6 separate regions of the Homo sapiens genome follow, and regions 1, 2, 4, 5 and 6 are each linked to region 3. Evidence: promoter capture Hi-C in 16 types of primary human blood cells and fetal thymus (Javierre and others, 2016). All regions are on one chromosome and are shown on one strand. The core of a region is centred on a gene start or on the middle of the fragment in contact, and the rest is flanking DNA. Distances in the headings are between cores, read along the strand shown. Region 1 holds the start of DNAJB14 (DnaJ heat shock protein family (Hsp40) member B14). Region 2 overlaps H2AZ1-DT (H2AZ1 divergent transcript). Region 3 holds the start of CENPE (centromere protein E). Region 4 holds the start of TRMT10A (tRNA methyltransferase 10A). Region 5 overlaps LAMTOR3 (late endosomal/lysosomal adaptor, MAPK and MTOR activator 3). Region 6 has its middle 8.1 kb from the start of DAPP1.

Region 1 (4,446 bases), core at 470-2,969, 3.3 Mb after region 3:
CAAGTTGGAAGTTTAATTAGCTTTCCAACCAACCAAATTTCTGCATTCGAGTCTTAACCATATTTAAGTGTTACTGTGGCTTCAAAGAAGCTATTGATTCTGAAGTAGTGGGTTTTGATTGAGTTGACTGTTTTTAAAAAACTGTTTGGATTTTAATTGTGATGCAGAAGTTATAGTAACAAACATTTGGTTTTGTACAGACATTATTTCCACTCTGGTGGATAAGTTCAATAAAGGTCATATCCCAAACTAGTTGTGTATTAAATTTGCTTGGTTGTAATAGGAACTTGTTTTGAGTATCTCATCTAGCAGCAATAACTAAGCACATTTCTTTGTGACTGAACTGTCAAATCTGTAGATCAACAAAGTGAGATAGCCCAAGTATATTTTTTTAATGTTATATGAGCTACTAAAGTTTTAATTTAAAAAGTTGGCAGGAGCTGGAGTGGGATTGTCAGTTTCTTAGGCTAAGTGTGACCATTTCAGTTTGTACATTGGCTTCGCTTGCTGTGTGACAGCACTGCACTAGTATGCTGTTAGCATGGTGGACTTGGGGAGGGAGAGAATAGGTAGGAATGTCCTGTATATCCACAGAATGAACTCCGAATTTAAACTTTAAAGATAATAGTGCTACGTGCCAGGCCCTGCTTTGAAGTCTGAAGTTGTTAAGTACTCAGTAACATCATTGGGGATATACTATCTCCATTTTATCGAAGAGAAGCAGGGTTTCTTATTTGAAAGTACCGAGTTATGGTAGTTAGCAGAATTAACAGCTTGGCTCACAGCATTATGTAAAAATTGTTACCTTGTGGTTGGGTTGAGCAGGTCATTTTGACAGTTTGTCATGTTTTTTTTTAAAAAATTTGCACATAGCAAACATTCCCCCCACCCCCACCGCGAAGACTAACAAGACACGGTACTTCCAAGTGGTAATGTTATCCAAATGGGACGGAAAAGGTGAAATCAAAAGTTTGCTTTCGTTAGGGCAGCCCCTGAGGGGCTGATTCCTGCCTTGTTTTGGCTACACAGGATTAAGGTCGATCTGCACCACTCGTTGCAAGCTACAAATTAAACTGCTTTGTACTTTGGATAGCCAGACATCCGGGTCAGAAAAAATGTAGCTGAAATAAGGCTGCCATACAAGCCCTAAGATTAGGTTCAAACGACGCTCTAACGTGTCCCGGAAGTGCTGAGACTGGACTGACACCTTGGTCCTCACCTGACCGCATCCTCCCTCGCTTGAGGGGCCCAGAGGCGGAACCTCCAAGTCCTGGCAATTTTACTGAAAACGAGTGTCCCCTTCCCGGACCCTGTCCTCCTGGCCTGAGCTGCGAGGGCCTCGCCTGGAGGTCACAGGGCACGGCGCTACCAATGCCGGCAATCGGGTCCCGGGCGGAACCCCTCCCCGCGATGGGCAGCCCGGCTGCTATCGTCCGCCTCCCGGGCAGGTCCGCTTCGAGCCTGCTGGCGCCGTGCGCGGACCACCGAGTCAGCTCGGACGCCCCGGCCCAGGAGGTTGGTCCTGGGCCGGGACGGATGCGGATCGCGCCCTAGGGGCCCGCGGGGGGCGGGGAGGCCGCCGTGAGGAGGCGGAGCTGCGAGGCCCGCCCGTCCGCCCGGGCCGTCGCAGCCGCTGCCGCGGTCCCCTGCGCTCCTCCCCGCTGCCGCCGCACGCCCCCAGCCGGTCCCGCCTCGCCTCCTCCGCGGCGGCGGCTTCCGCCCTTCTTAGCTGCGCTGCCGGAGGAAACGGAAGAAGGAGCAAGCTATGGAGGGGAACAGGGATGAGGCTGAGAAATGTGTCGAGATCGCCCGGGAGGCCCTGAACGCCGGCAACCGCGAGAAGGCCCAGCGCTTCCTGCAGAAGGCCGAGAAGCTCTACCCACTGCCCTCGGCCCGCGGTGAGACCTCAGCGTCCCTTCTCTTCCTGCCCAATCCCCAGACCACCGCGTAGCCCGCCCCTGCCCCCACCTCGGCCCCTCCTGGAGGCCTGCGGGGCCCCCGGCCTGTCTGAGCCAGCCCCAGCCCCAGGCCCGGTGGGGAGCATCCCGACACACCCCCGCCCTGGCCCCAGCCCCGGCTCCGGGCTGGGGCTCGGGGAATGCTGCGCGAGGTTCCTCTGCACCCGCCTGCCCGCCGGCTCCGCGTTCCGCTGTCCTAAATGTCCGGGTTTCATTCTCCCTGGAGGAGACTTGTCTGGTCCCGTCTTACCACAGTGAGGCTTTATTTGTATCTGTGTTGTTTATGTGGCCCCCTCCCTCCCCATTCTCAGTCCTACATAAGGCCTAGGCCCCTATCGAAGTGAGAGGAATGGTGTACTCTAGTGGCTAATCTCAGATTCCATGTTTCTGAGATCTGTAGAAAACTGTTCCCAAAGCAAACATCGAATACCTGAGATGACATTGCTTTTCCCTGGGAGAGAGTTCCTTTAAAAGAGAAGAGCACACTTTCGGCAAGAATGGTCAAGAGTCAGTAATGATTGCTGAAGAGTATCTGATTTGATAACACCATGATTATCGACGAACCAAATCTCTGAGGAATATGGTACTGGGTTTCCTTTAGTTGAAGTCAGCTTATTTATTTTCCTACTCGATAGGCTTCGGAGTAATAATAGCCAACATTTATTGAGCACAAAGTGCCAATAGTTGTGCCCAACATTTTGCATGGATTATTTCATTTATTCCTCAGAACAATTCTGTGTAGAGGTGCAGGATTCATTTGACCAGGTTTACCCACGTGGAAACAGACTTTCTGATAATTAATGAATGAATTAGCGAATGAATGAAAGTATCTTACCCAAGGTCACACAACAATTAGTAGCAAAGTCAGAATAGTAGCTGAACTTTCAGACTCGAAAAGGCCTTTAACCGCTACACTGTTGCCTTGCCATTAGTATTTCCAGGTTAAGAAGAAAGTTATCGATAGATTCAATTAATTGTAGAAAATTATTAATGAAAATATGGGGCCACTTGTTTTGTTGTCTCTTAAATTTTTTTCTCTACGTCGTTGAAGCCCTGTGCTCTTTGCTTTTCTCTCTATCCTTTCCATTACATTGCCTTCTAACACTATACCCATGAGGACAGGAAAATAAAATGAAAGAAAAGAGTTAATAATTTTTTAAGTTGTGGTTTAAAAACCTGCCAAATTTACGGTCTTAACTATTTTTAAGTGTGCAGTCCATTAGTGAAGTATATTGACATTGTTGTGCAAGGACTCTTCAGAACTTTTTCATCTTACAACACAACTGTGTACTAATCAGACAGCTCCCTACCGCCCCGTCTCCTAAGACCCTGGCAACTACCATTCTACTTTGTGTTTCTGTGAATTTAACTACTTTAGTTACCTCAGATAGGTAGATTCATGCAGTATCTTTTTGTGACTGTCTTACTTCACTTAGCATAATGTTCCCAAGTTTCATTTATGTTGTAACGTGAAGAATTCCTCTTTAAAAAAATACTGATTAGGCTGGGCGCGGTGGCTCACGCCTGTTATCCCAGCACTTTGGGAGGCCGAGGCGGGCGGATCATTTGAGGTGAGGAGTTCGAGACCAGCCTGGCCAACATGATGAAACGCCATCTCTACTAAAAATACAAAAAAATTAGCCAGGCGTGGTGGTGCATGCCTGTAATCCCAGCTACTAGGGGATGCTGAGGCAGGAGAATCGCTTGAACTCGGGAGATGGAGGTTACAGTGAGTCGAGATGGCAACACTGCACTCCAGCCTGGGCGACACAGCGAGACTCCATCTCAAAAAAACAAAAAAAAAAAGACCAAAAAAAAGCTACAGTAAAAAAACTGAATAATATTCCATTGTATATATACACCACATTTTGTTAATCCATTCATCTGTCTATGGACATTTGGGTTCCTTTCACCTCTTGGCTATTATGAATAATGCTGCTATGAACAAGGATATGCAAAGAGCCTGCTTTCAATTATTTTGGATACCAAGAAGTGGGATTGTAGGATCATACAGTAATTCTATTTTTAATTTTTGAGGAACCACAATACAGTTTCTGTAGCGCCTGCACCATTTTACTTTCCCACGAACAGTACATAGGGTTTCAGTTTCTCACCATCCTTGCCAACACCTATTTTCTGTTTTTGTTGGTTTTGATAGTACCCATCCTTGAGTGGGAGGTGATATCTCATTGTGGCTTTGATTTGCATTTCTCTGATGATTAGTGATGTTGAGCATCTTTTCATATGCTTATTGGCTAGTTTTATAATATCCCATTTTTGGAGAAAATGTCTGTTCAAGTCCTTTGCCCATTTTTAAATCACATTACTTGTTTTTTTTTTGTTGAGTTGTAGGAGTTCCTTATTTATTCTGGATATTAACCCCTTATCAGATATGTGATTTGCAGATGTTTTCTCCTATTTATATGTTGCCTTTTCATCACTTTGTTGATGGTGCTATTTGATGCACATAAGTTTTTAAGTTTGTTGT
Region 2 (4,307 bases), core at 1,363-3,862, 3.2 Mb after region 3:
ACTTTCTAACCTTAATGTGAGTTTGATTTTCAGGTTGTAGTCTTTTCTAATGCTTACCTGTCAAGGTGAAATAAATAGTGGACCCTCTGTATCCGTGGATTCCACATCCATGGATTCAACCAACAGTGGATCAAAAATATTTGGAAAACAAATTGTGTTTGTACTGAATGTCTTTCCTGTCATTATTTCCTAAACAATACAGTGTATCAACTATTTATATTGTATTAGGTATTATAAGTAATCTAGAGATTAAAGTACACAGGAGTATGTGCATAGGTTATATGCAAATACCACAACATTTAATATCAGCGACTTGAGCATCTGATGATTTTGGTATCCACCGGGGTTCGTAGAACCAATCTCCAGAGATAACCAGAGACAACTGTACTTAACTATAAAGGTAAAAAATTTTCAGTCATCTACTATCTGAAATCATCTCTACTTAAAAGTTGTACATGGAAATATGTGGAGAAAGAGGAGGGCTTAGGACCAAGCCCTGGGAAAGTGCCATCTTGAAGTCAGGTAGTGAAGAGAAAATAAATGAAAGAAAGCAATAAAAGGAGAAGAGAAGCAACCATATGGTATCCTGGAAGTCAAGAAATGGCAGTATCTGGTGGAAAGTGTGGTCATGCTGCTGAGAGGTAAAAAGAAGGAAGAAAACTGACCCTTGGGTTTGGCAACATGGCAATTAACAGTGACAAGAACCATTTGGGAGGCCTGATGGGAATGAAAGTCAAATATAAGTGGTTGAAGAGAGATTTGGAGGTGAAAAAGTGACAACCACCTGCAAAGAAAAATCCCATGAAAAGGTTTCTGTGAAAGGGAGCAAAGACAATGTGGCAGCTGGAAGGAGGCCTATGGGAAGCAGAGGAACTCTTTCTTAGCTGTAGTGGGGGAAAAGCAGAAGATGGGTGCAGATGCAGGGAGAATTGTATAACACTGGTAGGAAGAGCAGATTCTCATGGAATGAGGTCATCACTGAAATTGAGGGCAGGGAGTGGGTTAGATCACTGATTCTTAAAACATAGCTGTGCATTGAAGTCATCCAGCAGGTTTTAAATACTGTTTATGCTCAAATCTCACTCCCAAGAGACTCTGATTTAATTGGTATGGGGTGAATCCTACCATTCACGAGTTTCAAAAGCTCCCCACTTTCCACCTCCCCTCCATTCTCGGCCCCAGGATTCTGATATGCACCAAATTTTGAGAAATGCCAGTTAATAATTTTTGAGGATACAGAAGATACTAGGCACCAACTAGTTGCATAGATCCAGACTGCTACGTAGGAAAAATAAAATAAAAGTCATTTCTTGCTTTCAAGGCACTGTAAATCTGTAGGCTATTCAAAAATCTAAAATCATTCCAGAAAATATGAAAGTAATTTAGGAGCATTAGCAATTTAAAGTATATTAAAGAAAGCAGGGTACAAACCATATTCAATGATGCAGAATCAAGGGGAATAAGAGATCAATTTTGGAGATGGTGGCTCAGGGAATGTTCACTAAAGGAGAGTATTGAGCCATATTTTGAAGAAGTAAAGTGCAAAAATTGACAGCTATCTGAAGCACATTTCAGATAGAGGAAGCAACAAAAGCTTTGTAAACAAAAGCAGGTGATCAGGGAAACTATGGAGAAAACACATTGCTGAGCAACTGAAGGATAGGAGTGGGAGAGAGAATTTTCACTCTATACCACTTTTTTTAGCCTTTTAAATGTTGAAACATTGACAAGTTTAGCCTTTTCAAGAATCAATCAATTAATAAATAATGGCTTTTTAAATGGGAAAAGAATCATCTAGATTGAGACCATTAAAAAATGAAAAAATGAGAGTAAAGAGATACAGATGAGCCCATTATAAAAGTATTGAAAGTACTAGCAGTGCCCACAGGAATATAATCTATTTTCTCTACCATTCACCTGAAAAGACAGAATAACATTTTATCTAAATAAGACCTAACATCACCGTAGTGAAATGATCCTTAGCAGGCACAAAGTAAAAAACCAATGTGGGCCAGGCACAGTGGCTAACACCTGTAATCCCGACACTTTGGGATGCTGAGGCAGGTGGATTACTTGAGGTCAGGAGTTCGAGACCAGCCTGACCAACATGGTAAGAGCCCCATCTCTACTAAAAATACAATATTAGCCGAGCATGATGGTGCATGCCTGTATTCCCAGCTCCTTGGGAGGCTGAGGCAGGAGAATAGCTTGAACCTGAGAGGTAGAGGTTGCAGTGAGCCGAGATCGCGCCACTGCACTCCAGCCTGGACAAGAAGATCGAAACTCTGTCTCAAAACAAACAAACAAACAACAACAACAATGAAAAACAATGTGGAACTCTATCCTTGTGTGTCTAATTCTCCCACTGACAGAAATACTACAGCCAGACCAAATGTGTTTCTTGTTGCTGTTTATTAGGAGAAATTTTTGCTTTTGTTTTCAAAGTACTTTGTAGCCCTTAAGCCATTAATTACTTTAAAGAGATATTCATATTCTTTCATTTGGCCTCTTTTTCTAAAGAAAGGATAAGGAAAAAAGGTTATGTTTTCTTCAGTTCTCTCTTCATGACTCACAATTATGTTGTAAGAACAACTTTTCATTAACGCAGGATGTTTACGTGCCTTAAACAATTTCCAGAAAAGCTGAGTTCAAGTGCATAACAACACTGAATATTGGCTGCAAATTGAATTATAAATTACTCAGAACCATCTAAGTCACAGTTAATGTTGCCTGTGGCTTCTGAGTATAGTTCTCAATTTATCTGTAAGTTTTTGAAGAGGCGAAATTGTATTAGGTGCTGAAATTAAAACAAACAAACTTGATATATTAAAGATAGGGTATAAAACAGTAAAACTGGGGTGATTTTCTGCATTATAAAATTATTTCTTTACTCTGGTATCTTTTTAATGGAAATTTTCAGTGTAGTTAACTACACCTGAAGAGACAGAATAATAGTTTTTCTAAGTAAGACCTAATATCACTGTAGTAAAATGATCCTTAGCAGGAACAAAGTCAAAAACCAAAGTGGAACTCTATCCTTGTTGAGCAGATCTGATTCTCCTACCGATGGAAATATGTAAAGGCAGACCAAATGTGTTTCTTATTGCTGTTTATTAGGATAAATTTTGTAAATTATTTTTAATTCTTTTTAAAAATCAGTGTAAATAATTTTTCACTTTTGTAAAATGAAAATAGTCATGAAATATTGCCAGCATTCATTCTTCATGCTAATAATATTTTATCTTGGTATGATGCATTACAGTTAAAAAAGCACATGACTTAGCTCATGCAGTCTTCACAATAGTCCCATTCTGCCCAAGAGAAGTGGAATGCTCACATAGGTTGATTAGACCAACGTCTCTTAGCTGGGAAGCATAAATGTCAAATCCAGTTTGTTCTGAATTCAATTTTCCTCTTTTTTTCCACTGCTGCATCTTTGCCTCTTACCGTTTGTGTTTCATGTTCAAGTTCTCTGCATGTTATTTTAGTATAGCCCAACAAAACAAAATTTACAGTCAGAATATTTATATATGTAGATAAACTTAGCTGTTAAAGACAGCTCAGCACAACTTCAAACAATAAAGTATCGTTTATGTGGTGAAACCAGAGTGGCTAAGAAGCGAAGCTTGGTTTGTTTAAACAGGATATTGGGGTTGGTTTTTTTTTTTTTTAATTTAAGGGTAAAAACTATGATATGAAAAGGTCCCAAACAACGGCAAACTGATGACCACAAAGCAAAGTTTACCATTTTTTTCTTCCTACACAGAGACAGCATCTGCAGCAATTTCATTACCAATTTTTTCTTTTTGAACTCTACTGAAAATTTCAAATAAGTACTTAATTTCAATAATTATAAATATTTTGCCATATTGTTTATGCCTCCTGCATTAAAAAAATTTTTGGAGCATTTTAAAGCAAATTTCAGAAATCATTTTATATTAACCTTAAATATTTTAATGTGCTTTCTTTAAAAATAATAAAACAAAGGACATTTTCTTACATAAACAAATGCCATTGTTTTCTCTAACAGCATTAACAATAATTCCTTCATATTACCTAGTTCTAAATCTGTATTCAAATTTCCCCAATTATGTAAAACCTTAAAAAAACAACCACTACCACTAATTAGAGGTTTAATGACATCAGCTTCCAACCAAGGTTCACACATTTTACTGGGTTGTTCTATCTCACAATTCTTTTTAAATATCTCTTAATTTAGAACAGTTTTCTCCTCTTTTTTCTCCTTCCCTGAATTCTATTGCCTTATTGAAAAAAAACAGGTCAATTTTACACATTGTGGATATGGC
Region 3 (4,643 bases), core at 545-3,044:
TTGCCCACAATTAAAACAAAAACAACAGTTAAAATATACCTTCCTTAACTCTGTATTTTCTTACTAGATACAACCAAGTATCTTTACAGTCTAGCAATAAAAAAGAGTTGTTTATACTACCTCACAGCTAGTTAACCAAAACAAATCTTGAATGAATAGACTCATTTTTCTTTACTGTTCTTATCTATAAACTAGTTTCTTTAAATTGAAAGAAACTACTTTCATCTAACTCAGTCTACCATCTAACTCAGTCCTCACTCTGCAAGGAAATTAGGCATATTCTGTGTATCTTTCCAAAAATTATGTATGTATATCCAGACATATTCTGTGTACATAACCGTGCACCTTGAATTTCTCTTAATAAATGAAACATCTTGGATAGCTTTCTAAAGTACACATAAAAAGCTAGGCCAGGCACGATGGCTCATGCTTGTAATCCCAGCACTTTGGGAGGCCAAGGCAAGGAGGATTGCTTGAGCCTAGGAGTTCAAGACCTGCCTAGGCAACACTGTGAGACCCCACTCCCTACCCTAATCCCCCCACCACCCCGTCTCTACAAAAAAATTTAAAAATTATCTGGGCTTGTGATGTGCCTGTAATCCAAGCTACTCAGGAGGTTAAGGTGGGAACCCCACTTGGGCTGAGGCCAGGAGTTGAGCCTGCAGTGAGCTGTGTTCAGCCTACTGCACTCTAGCCTAGGTGACAAAGCAAGAACTCATGTTTATTTAAAAAAAAAAAAAAAAAAAAAAGAGAGAGAGAGAAGAAAGGGAAAATAAGCATTATTTTTGGGAAAAAATCACTGTATTTAGAATAGCTTTCCCTCTTAGTTAATAAAAGTAACAAACCAGGCCAGGAGCGGTGGCTCACGCCTTTAATCCCAGCACTTTTGGAGACCGAGGCAAGTGGATCACCTGAGGTCAGGACTTTGAGACCAGCCTTGCCAACATGGCGAAGCCCCGTCTCTACTAAAAATACAAAAATTACCTGGGCGTGGTGGCGGGCACCTTGTAATCCCAGCTACTGGGGAGGCTGAGGCAGGAGAATCACTTGAATGCAGGAGGTGGAGGCTGCAATGAGCAGAGATAAGCACCACTGCACTCCAGCCTGGGGTGACAGAGCGAGACTCCGTTTCCAAAAAAAAGAAGAAAAAAAAAGTATCAACCCATTACTCAATGAGTTTTTCAGTCCTCGGTATTTATTTTCCCTAATTCAACCTCTGAGGAAGCCACAGCTAATGGAAACGAGTTACAGAGAGAGAGAAACAGGAGAAAAGCCTAAACTCAGATTTTCTAAGGCGCACAACAGGCTTGTCACGTTTCTGGACTGGACAGCGAATTTCAACTCTTGCTGTTGAAAGTTTATTTTAAACTGTTGGTGCAGTTTCTTTAAAAGACGGCAATTCTGTTTGGGTAGTGAAAAATACATGTATCTCTACCTAGTTTCGTCTACAGGTTCCAAACTTTTTAAGGATGGGGTGGAGGATGACGTTCGCTAGCTTTTGGCAGATAATAGTATTCTGGTATTCCAGGACCACCACTCTCTGCCCACTCCTGGGAGCCCCTCCCTTCGGCCCTCTCCTCCGACTCTCTGCTGGGCCCTTTAAATCCCCTCTCCTGTTTAGCAGTGGTCACGCCGCCCGCCTTGCGTCCCCCGCGCTGCTCCGCACGTGGAATGGCCCATGACGTCACGAGGCCACGGCTCAATCAGATGCGGCGTTTGGGAAATTTTAAATTTAAAGGCGGGGCGGCCTGTGAGCCCTGAAGTGCCGGCCGCGGAGGGTCCTGGCCATTTTCCTGGGACCAGTTCAGCCTGATAGGATGGCGGAGGAAGGAGCCGTGGCCGTCTGCGTGCGAGTGCGGCCGCTGAACAGCAGGTAGGGGGGCCACACCACGGCCCGGTGCCCGCTGGGCCTGCGGCGCCGCCCTGAGCCGGAGGGGCGAGGCCTACGATGTTTCCAGGAGCCGCTGCTTCCCGGCTCTGCTGTCTAGTGACTCGGCTGCTGGCCATCGTTTCAGGGTCTGTAAAGTGACAGGGGAGGATCGGAGATCTAGAAGATACTTTCCAGCTGCGAGATTCACTTAAATTTAACTCAGTCTCGCTGACATACAGACCTTCCCTTCTGTGCTGCTCTGCCTTGCGGCATCTGCTCCTCCCTGCCCCATTCCCCGCCTAGAGAAGTCGTATGGGACCGTGCCTTCCTGGCCCTCATCACAGTTAGTCATTTTACACCTAACTGCTGTCTCCAGACCCTCTGAAGACAAGGGCTAGTCTGTCTTGTCACATTACATTCAATCGTCACTCAAGATCATTCTACAAATATTTATCAATTTTTTTTTAGTGACTTTGTACAACACAGACACTCCCGTCATTGCCCAGTGGCTCTTCCATTCTAATGGGACGAGACAGAAAGTAAAGTTGAAAATGTAGGATGTTAAGTGGTGATATGTAGGTAATAAGTGCTAGGGAGAAAAAGCAGGAAGAGGAATAAATGAAATCGGTTTGCTTCACTAGCTTCTGGCCCTCGACCCGAAATGCTAACACTTTGTGTGTGTGAGAAATTTTTATTGAACACGGGGTTTAATAAATGCAAATACCAAGATCAGGAATTTCCTATTTTTGAGGAGCTCATTATCTAATGCCTTAAACGGCTACATAAAGAAACCATTAGGATACCTTTTGACAAGTGTTATGATGGGCAGGTAGAGAATGTTTGCTAGAGGAGTTATTAGCCCATCAGAGACGAAAGCTTCCCGTGGGGTGAACTGGTGTCAGAAAAGTCTTGACGCTTTTCATGAGTGAAATAATCCCTATGTTACTTAATGGAAAGGGAAGTCAGAGTATTCCAGGCACAGAGAGGTTACATCTGTCATTTGGGGAAGACCTTCAGGTAGAGCTTAGGATGTATCTAGGAATTCAGAGGAAAATGGAAGAGAGAAATGACATGATCTAGGACTCGTGCCCTGCTGAGGATTTCATAAGTTTCCAAAAGGTTTTAAGAATTTTAAGCAAGACAGACATAATCAGAGTTGCATTTTGAATCCATCCCTTTGTTTACCAGTACTGGGGGAGAGGGTGAGAATGAAAGCCTTCACAAGAAAACACTTTTGAGGCGGCAGAAGGTCACTGAAGCTCCATTTAAGAGTTGAATCCTCAAAGATGGACTTTCTGTCATTCTCTTATGTTACTATCTTTCAAAATATTCTTTAGCAGGTGAAATCTTTTCAATTATTCCTCCTATGACATGACTTTTATGACTGGTTAAAATGCGGTGTTTTTATTCTTTTAGAGAAGAATCACTTGGAGAAACTGCCCAAGTTTACTGGAAAACTGACAATAATGTCATTTATCAAGTTGATGGAAGTAAATCCTTCAATTTTGGTAAGCTTATAATAGCATCAAAAGTTACCTTGTTATCCTTTTGCTATTAAAAGTACAAAAGGCTTATCAATAATATTAGATTTGTCACTAAAGATTAGACTAAGCCTTCTATAAACTGCTTCACTGGAAACAAAATTGTTTATCCATCATGTATTTAAGTAAGGTAACCAATTGGCATTTAAAACAGTTATAATCACAGTTATCTAATTTGCATCTAGGTAGATTCCAGACCCCCATGTGCAAACACTATACCTTATTGCCTCTTGAAAGAACATAGAAAAGTTGACTTGTAGTGTATTTTTTGTGTGTGAAAATGAACTCATTTTACCTTAGGGAAGGGTATTTTCAGAGAACCAAAAAGTTGAAAAAAATACTGTGTCTTAAATAGTTGATCATCCTACATTCTGACAGTTTTACTTTTGGGAATAATTACTAATTTGGAATGAAAACACAGTGGACTCATTTGATTTAACTTCTGTGTTGTTGTTGTTGTTGTTGTTGTTTAGATCGTGTCTTTCATGGTAATGAAACTACCAAAAATGTGTATGAAGAAATAGCAGCACCAATCATCGATTCTGCCATACAAGGCTACAATGGTTTGTATTCACTCAATGCTGCAGAAACATTTTAGTCTTGGGCGTCTGTGCAACAAGCATGCATAGTTTTACCCATTATAGGTTTGTTTTTAATCTTTGCGTATGTGTGTTTTGTTTTTTGCAGGTACTATATTTGCCTATGGACAGACTGCTTCAGGAAAAACATATACCATGATGGGTTCAGAAGATCATTTGGGAGTTATACCCAGGGCAATTCATGACATTTTCCAAAAAATTAAGAAGGTAAGTAACTTAACTGGATTTCTAGTACGTACAGGTAAAACTAGTAAAAACTGGGTACCAGTCTTAGTGTATTTCTCTTGTAAAGATGAAAGGAAGTAGATTTACAGTTATTGTTTGATTATCCATGGGGAAAGAAGAAAGGCATAGCATAGATTCACTTTTATCTCCACAACTTACTTTATAAAGCTTAAAGTTCTTTTATTCTTTCTCTTGAATTCTGCAACAATAATACTCTCAACAAAAAGTAGGCATTAAGGAACAAGAAAATGTTATCAGAATGGTTAGCTCCACCTAACCATTTAACTATCAGTGATTATAAAGGAACAGTAGAAAGTGGATGTAGGTAAAAAAAGAAGGGAAGCAGAAAGCCAGAATAGGCAACCGAGTTAGTTGGTTTCAAATTAGCATTTTTATTAAAATAAGAAC
Region 4 (4,804 bases), core at 789-3,288, 3.6 Mb after region 3:
ACCTCGTGATCCGCCCGCCTAGGCCTCCCAAAGTGCTGGGATTACAGGCGTGAGCCACCACGCCCGGCCTCAAAACCTATTTTTCTTCCAGTATTCCCTAAATGACCCGGTTAATGTTACTGCATTCCTACAGTTGTCCAAGTTAGAGAAGCCCTTAGGGTTATTATCTCCTCCTTCTTCCTCATTCTATCCACAGCTTTTCAGTCATGTGCAAAACTATGACACGCTTAGGTCTTTGCTTTCACTGTTCCCAATATCTTAAACTTCTTCACTTTTCTGACACCTGTACAACTCCTACTTACTTTCCAAGATGAAACAAAATTATTTAATCTCCAAAACTATGTCCTCTGCCTCAAGGAGCATTTAGTTGCTTCTTTCAAAGTACAAGCATCTCAAGTACATGTTGTATGGTATTTATTTACTGCTGGCTCCCCTATTAGATTAAGGATTCCTTAAGCACAGAGAGCATGATTTCGTCATTTCTGTATCACCAATACTAAGACAAAACGCATAGAACTCGATACATGTGTCAAATAAATAAATACATAAATTTTACAAATCAATGAAAATATTGTTTCACATGATTTCACCGTCTTAAACTTTCTATATGTTTCAATTTTTTGTTAAATTGACTTTTGCTGGTGCTCTTTTGGTGCTTACTTTGGATTAATAATAGAATCATTTTAAATTTTGCACCAAATGACTACAAAGTTAAATGTCTATGTCAAAAGAAAATTTATTGACTTCATTATTAGAATATGAAGTGGTTTTTTTTGCTTTAAAACTTTGTTTAAAATATCTAAGGAGGCCAGGTATTAACTCTGAAAAAACTGTATAATTATTTATAAAACAGATCCCATAGGAGCAACTGAACAGCTGTGGAAAGATTTGGCACATCACTTTGCCAGCCTGAATTTAATGACCTACATGTGAAGGGCTACATATCCAATTACTAATCCTCCCTCAGCTACTCTTTGCCCTCATATGGAGGCAGCTGAAAAAAGATGCCCTACTAACAGATCAGAAGTGGATCCAGACTTTTTTGCCAGTGCTCAGTTAACAAAGATCTTTTAGGTTTGAGATGAGGAAGAAACAGAAGAGGGACTCACAACAGTGTTATAGCTGATACAGTGTTTCAAGTAAAATTTAAGGGCTTATGGCAAGAGTGACTTTAGTTTTGTAACTAAAGTCAAAGAAATTTCGGCTCTTTTAGAGAATCTCAAATTCTGGATTTAATTTTCTATTCACTGAAGCCTTTAAACATGTTCAAATATCTTCAAGGATAATTTACTTCAAAATTCTTTCTATATGAGAAGCCAGTCTTCTATTCAAGATGCAAACCTCATTCTTACCTTCAAATTCTGCAATAATCACCTATTAGAAGTAGAGGAGAAAAAAACTAAATAGAAAATGACAATCTACGGGGTTGTATTTCATTTCTCTCTCAGTTGACATGATCTATATATAGCAAAAGATTATATAAGGTCAAGTATTATAAACAATGAAATGTCATCTGATGTTTTGCAAAACAGCATAGGAAAAATAGCTCAAGGAATGAATAAAGAGTAAAGCTATGGCTGTTTTACTTCAGCCATAAAAAAGCCTTACAGATTCTAAATTTAAATGCATTTTATTGTGAATCTGACTCACTTTTTGAATTTAATTTTCCACTTGAGTTATGTAAAATCATGTGATATGGTAATTTTCTGTATAAATTAAAAATAATATAGGCAAGAGATGTTTTTCTCTCATTTTCAACACAGAAAAATTAGGAGCCTTTCTTCGTTGTTTTGCATTTTTAACAGTGGGACTATCTTAATTCCTTCATCCAATACTCACAAGAATATATGAATGAATACACGTCTGCAGGTACACACTTAATTCTTGAACGGGAAAAAACAGACATCACTGTAACTACCTCCCACTCCCAAAACACTAACTCCAGACCCCGCCCCGCATAAACCCCTCCCCTTTCTTCCATTGCGGGTTCGAAATGGCCGCAGTTCGATGACGTAAGACGCAACCGCCGTAGCCTCCACTGCGTAACTACCGCCCCTGCCTCTGGGAATTGAAGTTTCTGTGGAAGGAAGCGTGAGCCGTAACCAGGCCAACCCAGAAAGGCTTTCTTTCTGAGATTTCACTTCCCTGTCAACTCTTCAGCTCGGTAAGTGTCCTGGCACTGGTTGGCGCTCCCCCGCACTATGGTATTCTCTGGACGCAAAGGGGCGCGTGCCATGCAGCCCCCTACTAGCAACAAGGGCTTCCGGGGGAGAGGGGAGCAGTGGTGTGGAAGTGGTTTCCTGCGGCGCTCTTGCTGAAGGAAATGACGTCGATGACAGGCGCCCCCCGCGGCCTACCCAGCTGCTCCCTGGTTCGCCAGAGACAGCTTAATCCCGTCTCTGAAATGCGTTTGCTGGCTGGGAGCCTAGAAGGGATAGTGGGCGAGGCTCCGCCCCGTGGTGGGGCGCTTTCCGTCGGCGTGTGTTTTGGGGTTGCCATCGGCCCGTAGTATGTGAAAAGTGAGTTTGCAAAGAATCAGTGGGAAATCTGTACTCTAAAGGGCCGGAAAGCGTGTTATGGCCCTGCCACTTCGTGGCTAGAGACCGTGGGCTTTACCTCTTTAAAGCTGCCTTACCTCATTTTTCCTGCAAAGGGCTGACGTCGCTGAACTCTCTGAAATGTAGAGAGCCCGAGGGGAAGTTGCTGCAGGTGCTGTGAGCTGAGGACAGTTTTATAAAGATCGAAGTGTTACTTGATTTCACTGAAATACTTTAAATTTGGGAATTTTTCTACAGATATGAAGAGGATGGCAACACATTACTTGTCACTTTCTGAAAGAATTTCATCTGCCCCTTCCATTCCCAACCCTCTGCCCAAAAGGCTTGACAACTGAAGTGAACAAAGGGCTTTTCGCTCCTCCACGTTTAGTCCGCATGTCTTTTAAAAGGGCATTCCTGGCCGGGCGCGGTGACTCACGTCTGTAATCCCCGCACTTCGGGAGGGCAAGGCGGGTGGATCACCTGAGGTCAGGAGTTCGGGACCAGCCTGACCAACATGGTGAAACCCCGTCTCTACTGAAAATACAAAATTAGCCGGGCGTGGTGGCGCATGCCAGTAATCCCAGCTACTGGGGGGGCTGAGGCAGGAGAACTACTTGAACCCAGAAGGCGGAGGTTGCAATCAGCCGAGATTGCGCCATTGCACTCCAGCCTGGGCAACAAGAGCGAAACTCCGTCTCAAACAAACAAGAAAGGCCGGGCGCAGTGGCTCATGCCTGTAATCCCAGCACTTTGGGAAGCCGAGGCGGGTGGATCACGAGGTCAAGAGATGGAGACCATCCAGGCCAACGTGGTGAAACCCCGTCTCTACTAAAAATAACAAAAATTAGCTGGGCGTGGTAGCGCGCACCTGTAGTCCCAGCTACTCGGGAGGCTGAGGCAGGAGAATCGCTTGAACCCGGGAGGCAGAGGTTGCAGTGAGCCGAGATTGCGCCACTGCACTCCAGCCTGGGCGACCTAGCAAGACTCCCTCTCAAAAAAAAAAAAAAAAAAAAAAAAAAAAGGCATTCCTTTGCTATCGCTGTCAAGTCATTAATTCCAATCTGCATTATTCCCACATTCGTTGAGATTTTTCTGAAAAGGAGACTGTCATAAATTAACGACGATTATTTATTTTATCCCAATCCATAACTTAATGCAGTTTTAAAAAACTTTTTTTTTTCTTTTGGTGCTCATTGATGTAGGATGTGTCCTTGCCTTACAAAGTGAGATAGTTTGTAAGCCCACTTAATAACCTATGTCTGCGAATGAACCCCACAAATTTTTAAAATTTTATGCAGGAGTAAAATTTCACACACACACACACACACACACACATATATATATATATAATTTTTTTTTTTTTTTGGAGACGGAGTCTTACTCTGTTGCCCTAGTTGGAGTGCAGTGCTGCGATCATGGCACACTGCAACCTCTGCCTCCCGGGTTCAAGCGATTCTTCTGCCTCAGCCTCCCGAGTAGCTGGAATTACAGGCGTCCACTACCACGCCTGGCTAATTTTTGTATTTTTAGTAGAGACGAGGTATCGCCATGTTGGTCTTGAACTCCTGACCTCAGGTGATCCGCCCACCTCAGCCTCCCAAAGTGTTGGGATTACAGGCATGAGCCACTGCGCCCGACCTCACACAAATATTTTTATAGTTACTGTAAAATACGTTCTTGAACATTTGTTGAACTTGGTTGAATGAATGAAAATGTACTGTGAGCATCACTGCATGTGAGAAAGGAATGAAAAACTCTGCCATGGAATTTTATAAATTATTGCCCAAACTAAAACAATTAGAAAGCAAGTATACCTAATAAAATGCTGTTTTGCTTAACAGGTAATCTGAACACGCTAGTACATAGTGCAGTGTAGATATACATTATACTTATTGTATAGTGTAGACAGTGCGAGTTGGTAGATATCTTTGTAAAGTATACTATACGGAATAATTTATAAGATATCAGGTTAGCATCATTTTTGTTGCATTCCATTTGTCTCAGTGCACCTGGCTTATTTAAAGCCTAAAAACTTCACTTAGTACAGTCGTTTTCTTAGTTAGGAATAGTTTTTAAAAAGATGATGATGATGATGATGAAGATGTTGACCATCTCATGACCTTTCCTTGTGTTTGAGAGATTGAAACATTAATGTACTATGACAGGTCATATTAAATTTAACTTAAGACTTCTTAGATAGGAAAGGCATATGCTCCCCCTGGTGTACATGACCTGTAAAACATTACATTGCTCTTTAAAAAGTC
Region 5 (4,693 bases), core at 1,464-3,963, 3.3 Mb after region 3:
GCGAGACGATTGCTTGAGCCCAGAAGTTGGAAGTTGCAGTGAGCCCCAGCTTAGAAAAATAAAATAGTCTTCTACTTCTTTAGTCTTAACTGTGTTTCGTGTTAAACACTTGACACACATTGTCATTTATTTTATATTCTGTAACACTGGGCTGGGCGCGGTGGCTCACGTCTGTAATCCCAGCACTTTGGGAGGCCAAGGCGGGTGGATCACCTGAGGTCAGGAGTTCGAGACCAGCCTGGCCAACATGGTAAAACGTTGTCTTTTCTAAAAATACAAAAAATTAGCTGGGCATGGTGGCAGGTGCTTGTAATCCCAGCTACTCGGGAGGTTGAGGCAGGAGAATCGTTTGAACCTGGGAGGCAGAGGTCGCAGTGAGCCGAGATCGCGCCATTGCACTCCAGCCTGGACAACAAGAGCGAAACTCCGTCTCAAAAAAAAAAAAAAATGTTGCCTCACATAGTCATATAGAATTTATTTTAGGTCCTTAAACAAAATATTTTAAAAATTACGTTATAATAATATGCCTTACACTGTTTCATTATTTGTTGAGTAGGTGAGTTCAACAAATAATGAAACAATGGAAGGCATATTTTTATAATGTGATAGTCACGTGAGACAACAGTCTTACAGAGGTCATATCACCTTACCCAAGACCATTAAGATGATGGTGGAAAGTCTATCTTTGAACATGGAAAGGTGTTTATAACGTCTTCTCAAGTGAACACAATAGCAACAGGATGTAAAACACTAGTATGAAAATTATGATGTAATTTTATGGCTAAAATGTGTTTCCCATTTCTAGGTATGCTAATCCATGCATCTTCTCAATAAACTTTTAACAACACTTTTATGATGTAGGTTCTATATTAGCCCTATTCAACAAATAATGAAATAAGCTTAGCGAAAAAAGGTTGGTTAACTTACTCCAAGTTGCGTGACTAGTAAACATCCAAATCAGACAGAGAAAGATAAAACACAGCAAGAAAGGTTATGAATGATAACTGAAGTTCCTTAAAATTTGGATAGGACAGGATCTAGAAAACAGTGGAAGGCCTATTATTACAACATTATTTTTTAATGCTCTCTTTCAGGACCTAAAGCGATTCTTGTATAAAAAGTTACCAAGGTAAGAAATTTTTAATTTGTTATTGAATAAATTCTATATGCCATATGTTAATTTTATGAAGCATTTTGTCTGTATTTTCCATGTTGTGAAGTATCTCTGAGATTTCCTTTAATATGAATATTTTTTGCCAGCCTCACGTCCTCTGGAAAATTTTCGTCACAACCGCTTTCCTCATTTATGTCAATAAGTTTGCCTTCACTGAGTTCTCTGTGTATCTAGAGCGATAGTGTCAGCATTCCCTTGGTCATCTGTTTCTTCTATAATTCTTTACTTTCTATTTGAAATTCAGCATTTCTATTTGAAATTTCAGCATTATTACTTTTCATTTCTTTGCTGTATTTCGTCTTTGTTGGCCAGTTTCCTCTTTTTATTATCTCTTTTTCTAAATGTCACATACTTTATCATTGGGAGACAAGGAGGTACAAAACTACATGCTTTGCTATCTCTGCATGAGCTGCATAACAGATGCACAGTGACCAACCATCAACATACTTTGAAAGAAATGATGTGGCTGGTTACTGATGACAGTGTGCATCTGTTAATTACATAATTATTTATGTAGTGATTTGTGGACTAAAGAGTTAGAAAAGTTTATACTTTACGTAGTTATTGAGGTATTATGCCATGCTAACTAAAATTTGACCTGTGCTCTTCTGCAGGGAGTGGTATTACTTAACCATAGTAACTAAAATGTGCATATTGGAACTATGCAAAATGAGGGCTTTCTGTGTTTTTCTGTAGTTACCTTAGCGTAATGAAAGGGCGCTCAAATTGGGACGGAGAGATACCCCACTACGCTGGTGATATGATGAAATAGTTAATAGTACATAGTTAATTCACTTAGAAGTCTTAGTGATTTACAGTCCTCTTTTGAGTGTTAGCATCTCTTATTGAAGAAACAGCAAAATTGCATTCAATGTTCTTAAGTTATAAACCGACCAGAAAGATACTCATTAGTCACCTGGAGATCTAATAAAGCAATAATTGATTCTAATTACATCATCTGTGATTATAAGCAATAAAAATGTTTCAGACAATGGGGATCTCATTTTAACTATTAAGTGTGCTCTCAAAATCATAATAGCGTGTGACACTGGATATGATGAAGCTGTCTGTGTAAAGGAATTAGAGAATAATACCAAAAGTATTTATTATATTACTGAGTAGTTCTAATGTTGATCAAAAATAGTTGGAAAGTAAATGCTTGCTTCTTCTTTGAATTTAGATGTCTCTTATCTTTTAACAAAAGGGGAAATATCAGGTTGTTGTGCTTATCCAAGAAATAAATTCAGTTAAAGGATATTTGTTAAAAGCTTTATGAAAATCTTTCATAATGGCAGGAAAGGTATTAGTACTGTCAGTTTTTTTTTTAATAATGAAAAAAAGCCAGTTCAACTCATTATATCATTTATTGAAAATAGGCTTATTGCATCCCAGAACAGTAATAATGAAGAAATAATAATGTTTTGAACATTTATGAAGAATAGTAGAATATACGCTTTGATTTGTTGCTAGATGTATGGGTTTGGATGCAGGCATCCTGCTTCAGAGCCATGGATTCATGCTTTTAACTGTTGTACCTCAGTGCCTCTCAGTAACAAAGTCAGCCAGCTACGGATACTAATGGAATGTGTGTTTTTGTGCGTTTTTTGAATTCTCTGCAAAATATCGTTCTTGTATTTGCAATTTAAAATCTGGTTGTGACCCAAAGCAGTCTCAGGCTTTAATAATCCCACTTTGTATGTTTTAAAACAACCAAATATTTCATAATTATGTGTATAAAACTAAATCCGATGTCTTTGATTAGTAATGCAACATTTGTTTTTAGAAAAAAATGGTTGTTTTAGTAAGCTTAAGGTTTAGATTTCTTCAGAATATTTCACAAAATTTAATTCATTTCTTCTAAAAGTGTAGTATCTCTTAATGAGCCAGTTATTTTTAATTATTAGTAAATTCTATTTATATTACTCTTTGCGCATTGTATGTAGAATTGAAAACAGCTTTTATATTTGTGACCTGATTTCTAAAATTATATACTTAAGAGTGTAAGTAATTTTTCTACTTTCTTGATTCATTTCTCTGTGAAGTCCATCAAAAAGAAAGTCCTTTTATTTTCTTTGGAGCATTAGTTGTATTTAAAGTAATTTCCATGGAAATTTAAAAAAAGAAGCTACCTGTGGTGGCACTAATTTTTCTAAACATTTTTGTGGTCCTCTTTTTACCTGCTTTTTAATTTATTTTGGGGGTAAGTAGTACATTCACAGAGTTCAGATTCAAGACTTAACTGAAGAACATAGAGTGAGAAGCTGCCCATCCTTCCTCTCCAGCCACATGCACAGTTTCCCCTCAAAGAGGCACCCACCATTACCTACAGAGATATTTTATGTACCTATGAGCAGACATGTATATACACGTATTTATACACACAACATACACATATGCCTGCATATTTTGGTACATAATTTATTGCTTCTTCTATACACTGTTCTAAACTGTGTATTTTTTCACTTAAGAATGTAACTTTGAGAGTAATCTTTCCTGGTACATAGAGAACTTCCTCTTTCTCATGGCTGCAGAGTATTCCAGAGTATTCCTTTGTAGGTGTATATCATAACTTACCTTGTCCTTCTTGATGGACAGTTGGATTTGTAATGCTTTACTGTTTCAAATGATGTTGCTTTTGGTAACTGCACAAAATAATTGGCTTATGTACAAATATCTGTAGTATATGTTTTATATAACCTAGTTTTTAACTTAGAAGAATATATTTATTTTATGTATTAATCTTTTTGTTGTTGTTGTTGAGACAGACTCTCGTTCTGTCACCCAGGCTGGGAGTGCAGTGGCGCAATCTTGGCTCACTGCAACCCAGGTTCAATCGATTCTTATGCCTCAGTCTCCCAAGTAGCTGGGATTACAGACAAGCACCACCACACCCAGCTAATTTTTGTGTTTTTGGCTGAGACGGGGTTTCATCATGTTGGCCAGGCTGGTCTCAAACTCCTGACCTCAGGTGATCTGCCCACCTTGGCCTCCCAAATTGCTGGGATTACAGGCGTCAGCCACTGTGCCCGGCCTATGTTATGTATTAATCTTAGAGATATATTTTAATCTATAAATAAGTTTAGGATTGAATGATTAGGAAATCATGCCAATAATAGGATAAAAATAGTATAAAAGTCATTTATAAAGTTATTTTATTCTTATTTTTAATGTAAGGAAGACAAATGATTTTGTTTGTAACATTTTCCATTCATATTTAATAACACTTTTCTGACTTAAAAGTTTTTGACAATGGGATTTTAAAAAATTTAATGTCAGTATTTAAACATTAGGTTAATATAAGTATTTCTTATTCCTTAGTTAATACATTAAAGTTAACACAAAGAATAGATCATTCCGGGTTGCTGTAGGGACATTGAACATATCTCTGAGTTGTAGTTTATAGATACCATAAGATAGTTACAGGACTATAAGATTTATGTTAACAATGAAAGGGTTTTGCATAAATGTTGAAAGTCGAGGAGTGTCACCTTATATTTTTTAACACAGTATATTTGTGCT
Region 6 (4,506 bases), core at 1,248-3,747, 3.4 Mb after region 3:
CTAGGGTCCTGGGTCACTCTCCCCACCCCATCCCTAGGGGTCCTGGGTTACTCTTCCCTTACCCCATTTCTAGGGGTCCTGGGTCACTCTCCCCACCTTCATCACTAGGGGTCCTGGGTCACTCTCCCCACCCCATCCCACAGACTGGGTAGCTTACACAAAACAGAAATTTATTTCTCACATTTCTGGAGTCTAGGAAGTCCAAGATCAAGGCACCAGCAGATGTGGGGTCTGATAATGCCTGATTCATGGTTCATAGATGCTGGCTGTCTTCTTGCTGTGTCTTCACATGGTGGGAGGGGCTGGGAAGTTCCCTGGGACCTCTTTTATAAGACATGAATCCCATTAATGAGAATTATGACCTTATGACTTAATCACCTCCCAAAGGCTCCACCTCCAAATACCATCACATTGGGGATTAGGCTTTTACATAGGAATTTTGTGGGACACAAATGTTCAGTTTTTGGTAGGGAGTGAGGAATGGTTTGCCTCTGCTGAGAGGTATATTCTGTCATTGACATTGGTTAGAATTGCTGGTTTCTGGTGATAATAAAGAGCAGAATGACTTCTCATTGGTTTTATCATTATCATTGTTTCTTTATTCCCTTTCTTTCTTTTTTTTTTTTTTTTTTTTTTTTTTAGAGAGTGTCTGGCTCTGTCACCCAGGCTGGAGTGCAGTGGCATGATCTCACCTCACTGCAATGTCTGCCTCCTCAGCTCAAGCCATCCTCCCACCTCAGCCTCCTGAATAGCTGGGACTACAAGCATGCACCACTACACCAGGCTTATTTTTGTATTTTTTGGTAGAGACACGATTTTGCCATTCTTTCCAGGCTGGTCTTGAATTCCTGGGTTGAAGCAATCCTCCCGCCTCAGGCTCCCAAAGTGTTAGGTTTATAGGCATGAGCCACAACGCACAGCCTGTTTCTTTATTGTTATTGACTATACCAGGGATTAAAGTGCTCCCAAGCACCCCCTCACCTTTGTATGTCACTGGTAAAAAAGATTCTTATATTAGAAGGAAAGTTATTCTAAGTCACTTTTAAGTTCCCTTTTAACTTTGAAATAATGTGACTTTTTAGAAACAAATACCCAGGGTTGCTGAAGCTATCCTGCACACATACATAATATATATTAGGCTTTCTTGCTGAAGCTGGGGATGATTTATATTTAACCAAACACCTCTTAGCACAGCAAATCAACATGCCTTCAGATAGAGCAGTGTTAATACATTATTCCAATAATGTTAAGAGAGCACATGTGTGGTTTAAGAAGAGTGCTGTGTTTTGCATGTCTCCTAATTTCCTAGAACTTCACTCTGGCTTTCTTAACAGGTAATGCAAACAGATTAAGTGATATTATGCTCCCTTCCGCAAAGGCTTTACTTCAGCACTTACTTTACCATTTTTAGATGCAGTGTCTTAAAAATATGCAAACATGTGCACTTGTGGGTGAGTGTGGCAGATGCTGTTTGTGCTGGTGAAGCAAGGCACCATCTGCATGGAAAGGTCATGCTTAATTGTGTCAGCACTGATTTCTGAGTAATGAAAGCCTGGACAAAAATGAAACTTCAAACACACCAGCATTTTTGCATTTAAGTCTGCAAAAGTAGCTGCTAACTCAACCAAATGAAATTAAACAAGGTTACGCACTTTTGGATCCTGTGGGCCCTATCCAAATACTTTTTGTCTTCTTGTCCACACTTCATCTGAAAAGATTGCTGTGTTAACTAACGGGAGCTAATGGCAAATAACAAAGATAATTTGACCAACTGGCCAGCTGAGATATCTCCCAGATTCTTAGCTTCCACGAAGCACCAGGGTAGATTCAGCTTTTGAAAATGGGTAAAATTTGAAATCGTTCATGATAATGTGTGTGAATGGAGCAGCTCAGCCAAAATGTCAGAACGTTTGGTCTACCTTGGGGTAGGACTTCAGAAATGAATAAGAGGAGTCTTAGAGCTTTTCATGGAGAGCATCTTAGAGGGAACCTACTTCAGTTCCCCTATTTAACAGGTTGGGCAAGTGGGGTTGGAAACTATTAAGATACTTGCCTGAGATTTCACCCCTAGTTACAGGGATTCTGGCACTTCTGACTGAGCCCAATTCTTTCCTTGCTGAGTCCAGTAATAATACAGCTAACTTTGGTGCTTTCTTTTAAATCACAAAATGTTTTCCAGGCCAGCATTAAATTAATAGAAAGCTTGAACCTCAGATGTATGTTATTTGTCCATTTGAAGCCTGCGTAAAACAAACTCCGCGGGAGTAAAAACTGTGGCTTACAGGTCCTCATATGACTTACTTTGAAACCCCATCAAAATAAATATTTCTTAAAATAGCCCTGGAAGCAATGAGAATGGACATTATAGAAAATATAGCCTTACTCTAGCGCTCCCCTCGCCACCCCCAACCCCCGGGTGTATTTAATTTGTGGATTCGCCCTACTGGCTGTGCTTACTACACCTCTTCCCCTCCACTTCCACAGGCAGGACCTCTGTGATGAGGATATGCTATCACTAGGTGGCAGTAATACCGCGTTGGTGGGCGCGGGGGAGCTGTTTTACCTGAAGTCAAGATTAGATCCATCGCTTTTTCCTTCCTCTCTATGAAAGTATAGTTCTTTATTAAAGTAGCTGAATTCAGGTGATACTACCCAACACCACATTTGTAGAAGATTCCTTAAACGCCAGACTACTAAACCATTAAATGATTCAGGTATAATTTATTACCTGTCTCACCAAGTTTTAAATGGTTCAATTCTTAGTTCTGCTCTCTTTTCCCTTTAAAGCTTTGAGACCTTTACTGAAAGAATTTAAATGAGTAGGAAGTGATTGAAATCTAAAAATTCAATTTTATACCTAAAAATGATTTTCATTTCTGCAATTGCAATATATTTTAAGCACTTACTTTTTCCTCAGCTCATTTGGTAAATATAAATCTTCAAAGCATTTCAATTTTCATTTAAAATAAGGAATGTAGGTGACTCTAAAACTGCTAACGTAGAGCCCTGTCACAGTAACGGTGACTGGAAATAGTGAAAATTCTTCAGGGTTCTCAGCGTTACAGTGAAGGCAGCTTGGGAACAGCTCCCCGATTACAGAGACAGTGACTCAGCCACAGCAACAACTTTGAAGTAGATTTTGTCACTGTTCCTGGGTGGCCCATGGGTCTGAGTTTTCTCTGTTAATCATATAAATATGAGATCTTTGGTATTTTAAATATTTTAAGGGTGGTAAAGAGAAGTTTCTCTTAACATGTAAATGTTTTTGTTCTGTCTATCTAAAGGAGACATTATAGAGATGATTTTTTTTGAGATGGGGGTCTCACTGTGTTGTCCAGGTTGGTGTTGAACTCCTGGCCTTAAGTGATCCTCCTGCCTCAGTCTCTCAAAGTGCTGGGATTACAGGCATCCGTCATTGTGCCCAGACACAAAGTGAATTTTATCCAGAAGGTTAGGTGGGGGATGGAAGCAGGAGGAAGAGCAAAATTATGAGGAACTATGAGTGGTTAAAAAAAAAATGTGAAGAGAGCAGGAGAACTATAAAAGAGAGTACTGACAGGATGGTGTGATAGGTGACTGAACCAGTAATCCACCCGAAGCAAAAAGGATAAACCTGGCCCTGAAGGGGGCCACATCAGAGCAAAAATAAAGGCTTCAGAAGACCCTGGAGGGTGGGGAGCATGGAGGTGACACACTGGAAGCTGAAAGCTAAGGGCTGCAGCAGGGCTTCTCCCAGGACAGGCTGTGCACCACCAGCCTCAAAATCCCCAAGGCACAGGGCCCTGGGGCCTGCATCTTGGACAGTTGCCCCAGGTGATTCTGATGTTCGGCAAAGGTTGAAGAGCACCCGAGTCTGTGGAAGAGCCTGCAGACCAAAAGTAATGTGGTGACGGGTCTGTGGGCTCCTGGGGCAATAACGAGTGCCATAAGCCTGTGCCAAGAAAAGATGGTACCTTGTGACCTAATAAGCTATCCACGTTTGTGTCAGTCAACACCCATCACAAAAGAAGCCTGTCATTCCTTGGACCATCTGTGTGTGCTCACGAGCAATGGGCTGTGTAAGGAGAAAAAGAAGGACTTCCAAAACCAAGAAAGGTTTTCGGGCTTGGAGGTATCAACTAAGTAACCTCAAACTCTTTTGTCTCAGTAACTCTTGGCTGCAGCTCAGCTGAGACTCAGCTATGCTGGCATCAGGAGTTGGCGGCTCCCTGTGGAGATCCTCCAAGTGCTCTCAGCAAACAAGGCCTTCTTAGGGTAATAGGTTGCTCGATGACACTGATGATCCAGATGACCAGAGGTCCCATGGTGGGGGACTTAACTTGATCCAGGCTTAGGATACAAACCAGTCTGACAGACAAGGGCAAATAGGAAAGGGATGGAGCTGGACTTCTGGGAGTAAAAAAGGGAGTCCCTGGGAGGAAGAATCCTTATAGGTGAGGATTCACGGCTTCAGGGCCAAGGGCAGGCAGGTCTTGGTGGTTGTTCTTGGCCTTAACTCAACCTAAT

Evidence for each region. The method cuts DNA at HindIII sites, captures the fragments that hold promoters and counts their contacts. A CHiCAGO score of 5 or more calls a contact.
Region 1: the fragment with the promoter of DNAJB14 here is called in contact with the fragment with the promoter of CENPE in region 3 in 7 of 17 cell types (fetal thymus, total B cells, naive B cells and 4 more); the score reaches 14.5 in fetal thymus.
Region 2: a contact is called between a fragment that was not itself captured here and the fragment with the promoter of CENPE in region 3, in 1 of 17 cell types (total CD4 T cells). The highest score is 5.2, in total CD4 T cells.
Region 4: the fragment with the promoter of TRMT10A here is called in contact with the fragment with the promoter of CENPE in region 3 in 7 of 17 cell types (fetal thymus, naive B cells, total B cells and 4 more); the score reaches 15.4 in fetal thymus.
Region 5: a fragment that was not itself captured here is called in contact with the fragment with the promoter of CENPE in region 3 in 3 of 17 cell types (fetal thymus, naive B cells and total B cells); the score reaches 15.4 in fetal thymus.
Region 6: a contact is called between a fragment that was not itself captured here and the fragment with the promoter of CENPE in region 3, in 1 of 17 cell types (total B cells). The highest score is 7.4, in total B cells.

Annotation. Positions count from the first base shown.
Region 1 is chr4:99,943,891-99,948,336 of GRCh38, reverse strand. DNAJB14 (DnaJ heat shock protein family (Hsp40) member B14) reads left to right here and starts at 1,719. Exons shown (of 8, transcript NM_001031723.4): 1 at 1,719-1,898. The coding sequence starts at 1,766. H2AZ1 (H2A.Z variant histone 1) reads left to right here. Exons shown (of 5, transcript NM_002106.4): 5 at 1-249. RefSeq lists a silencer at 1,456-2,115 and an enhancer at 2,286-2,335. The HindIII fragment of the contact is 11,087 bases long and covers 1-4,446 here.
Region 2 is chr4:99,965,192-99,969,498 of GRCh38, reverse strand. All of the region lies in intron 1 of H2AZ1-DT (H2AZ1 divergent transcript), which reads right to left. Among named protein-coding and RNA genes, the nearest start is that of H2AZ1-DT, 17 kb to the right of the region's middle. The HindIII fragment of the contact is 2,031 bases long and covers 1,597-3,627 here.
Region 3 is chr4:103,195,494-103,200,136 of GRCh38, reverse strand. It overlaps CENPE (centromere protein E), which reads left to right and starts at 1,794. Exons shown (of 49, transcript NM_001813.3): 1 at 1,794-1,873; 2 at 3,287-3,378; 3 at 3,885-3,974; 4 at 4,099-4,217. The coding sequence starts at 1,818. RefSeq lists an enhancer at 1,378-1,932. The HindIII fragment of the contact is 3,749 bases long and covers 1-2,748 here.
Region 4 is chr4:99,561,273-99,566,076 of GRCh38, reverse strand. It overlaps TRMT10A (tRNA methyltransferase 10A), which reads left to right and starts at 2,038. Exons shown (of 8, transcript NM_001134665.3): 1 at 2,038-2,164. It also overlaps a transcript of MTTP not described here. RefSeq lists enhancers at 1,960-2,019, 2,370-2,499, 1,735-2,934. The HindIII fragment of the contact is 8,482 bases long and covers 1-4,804 here.
Region 5 is chr4:99,888,436-99,893,128 of GRCh38, reverse strand. It overlaps LAMTOR3 (late endosomal/lysosomal adaptor, MAPK and MTOR activator 3), which reads left to right. Exons shown (of 7, transcript NM_021970.4): 3 at 1,095-1,129. Among named protein-coding and RNA genes, the nearest start is that of LAMTOR3, 3.6 kb to the left of the region's middle. The HindIII fragment of the contact is 538 bases long and covers 2,445-2,982 here.
Region 6 is chr4:99,806,468-99,810,973 of GRCh38, reverse strand. No RefSeq gene overlaps it. Among named protein-coding and RNA genes, the nearest start is that of DAPP1, 8.1 kb to the left of the region's middle. The HindIII fragment of the contact is 585 bases long and covers 2,205-2,789 here.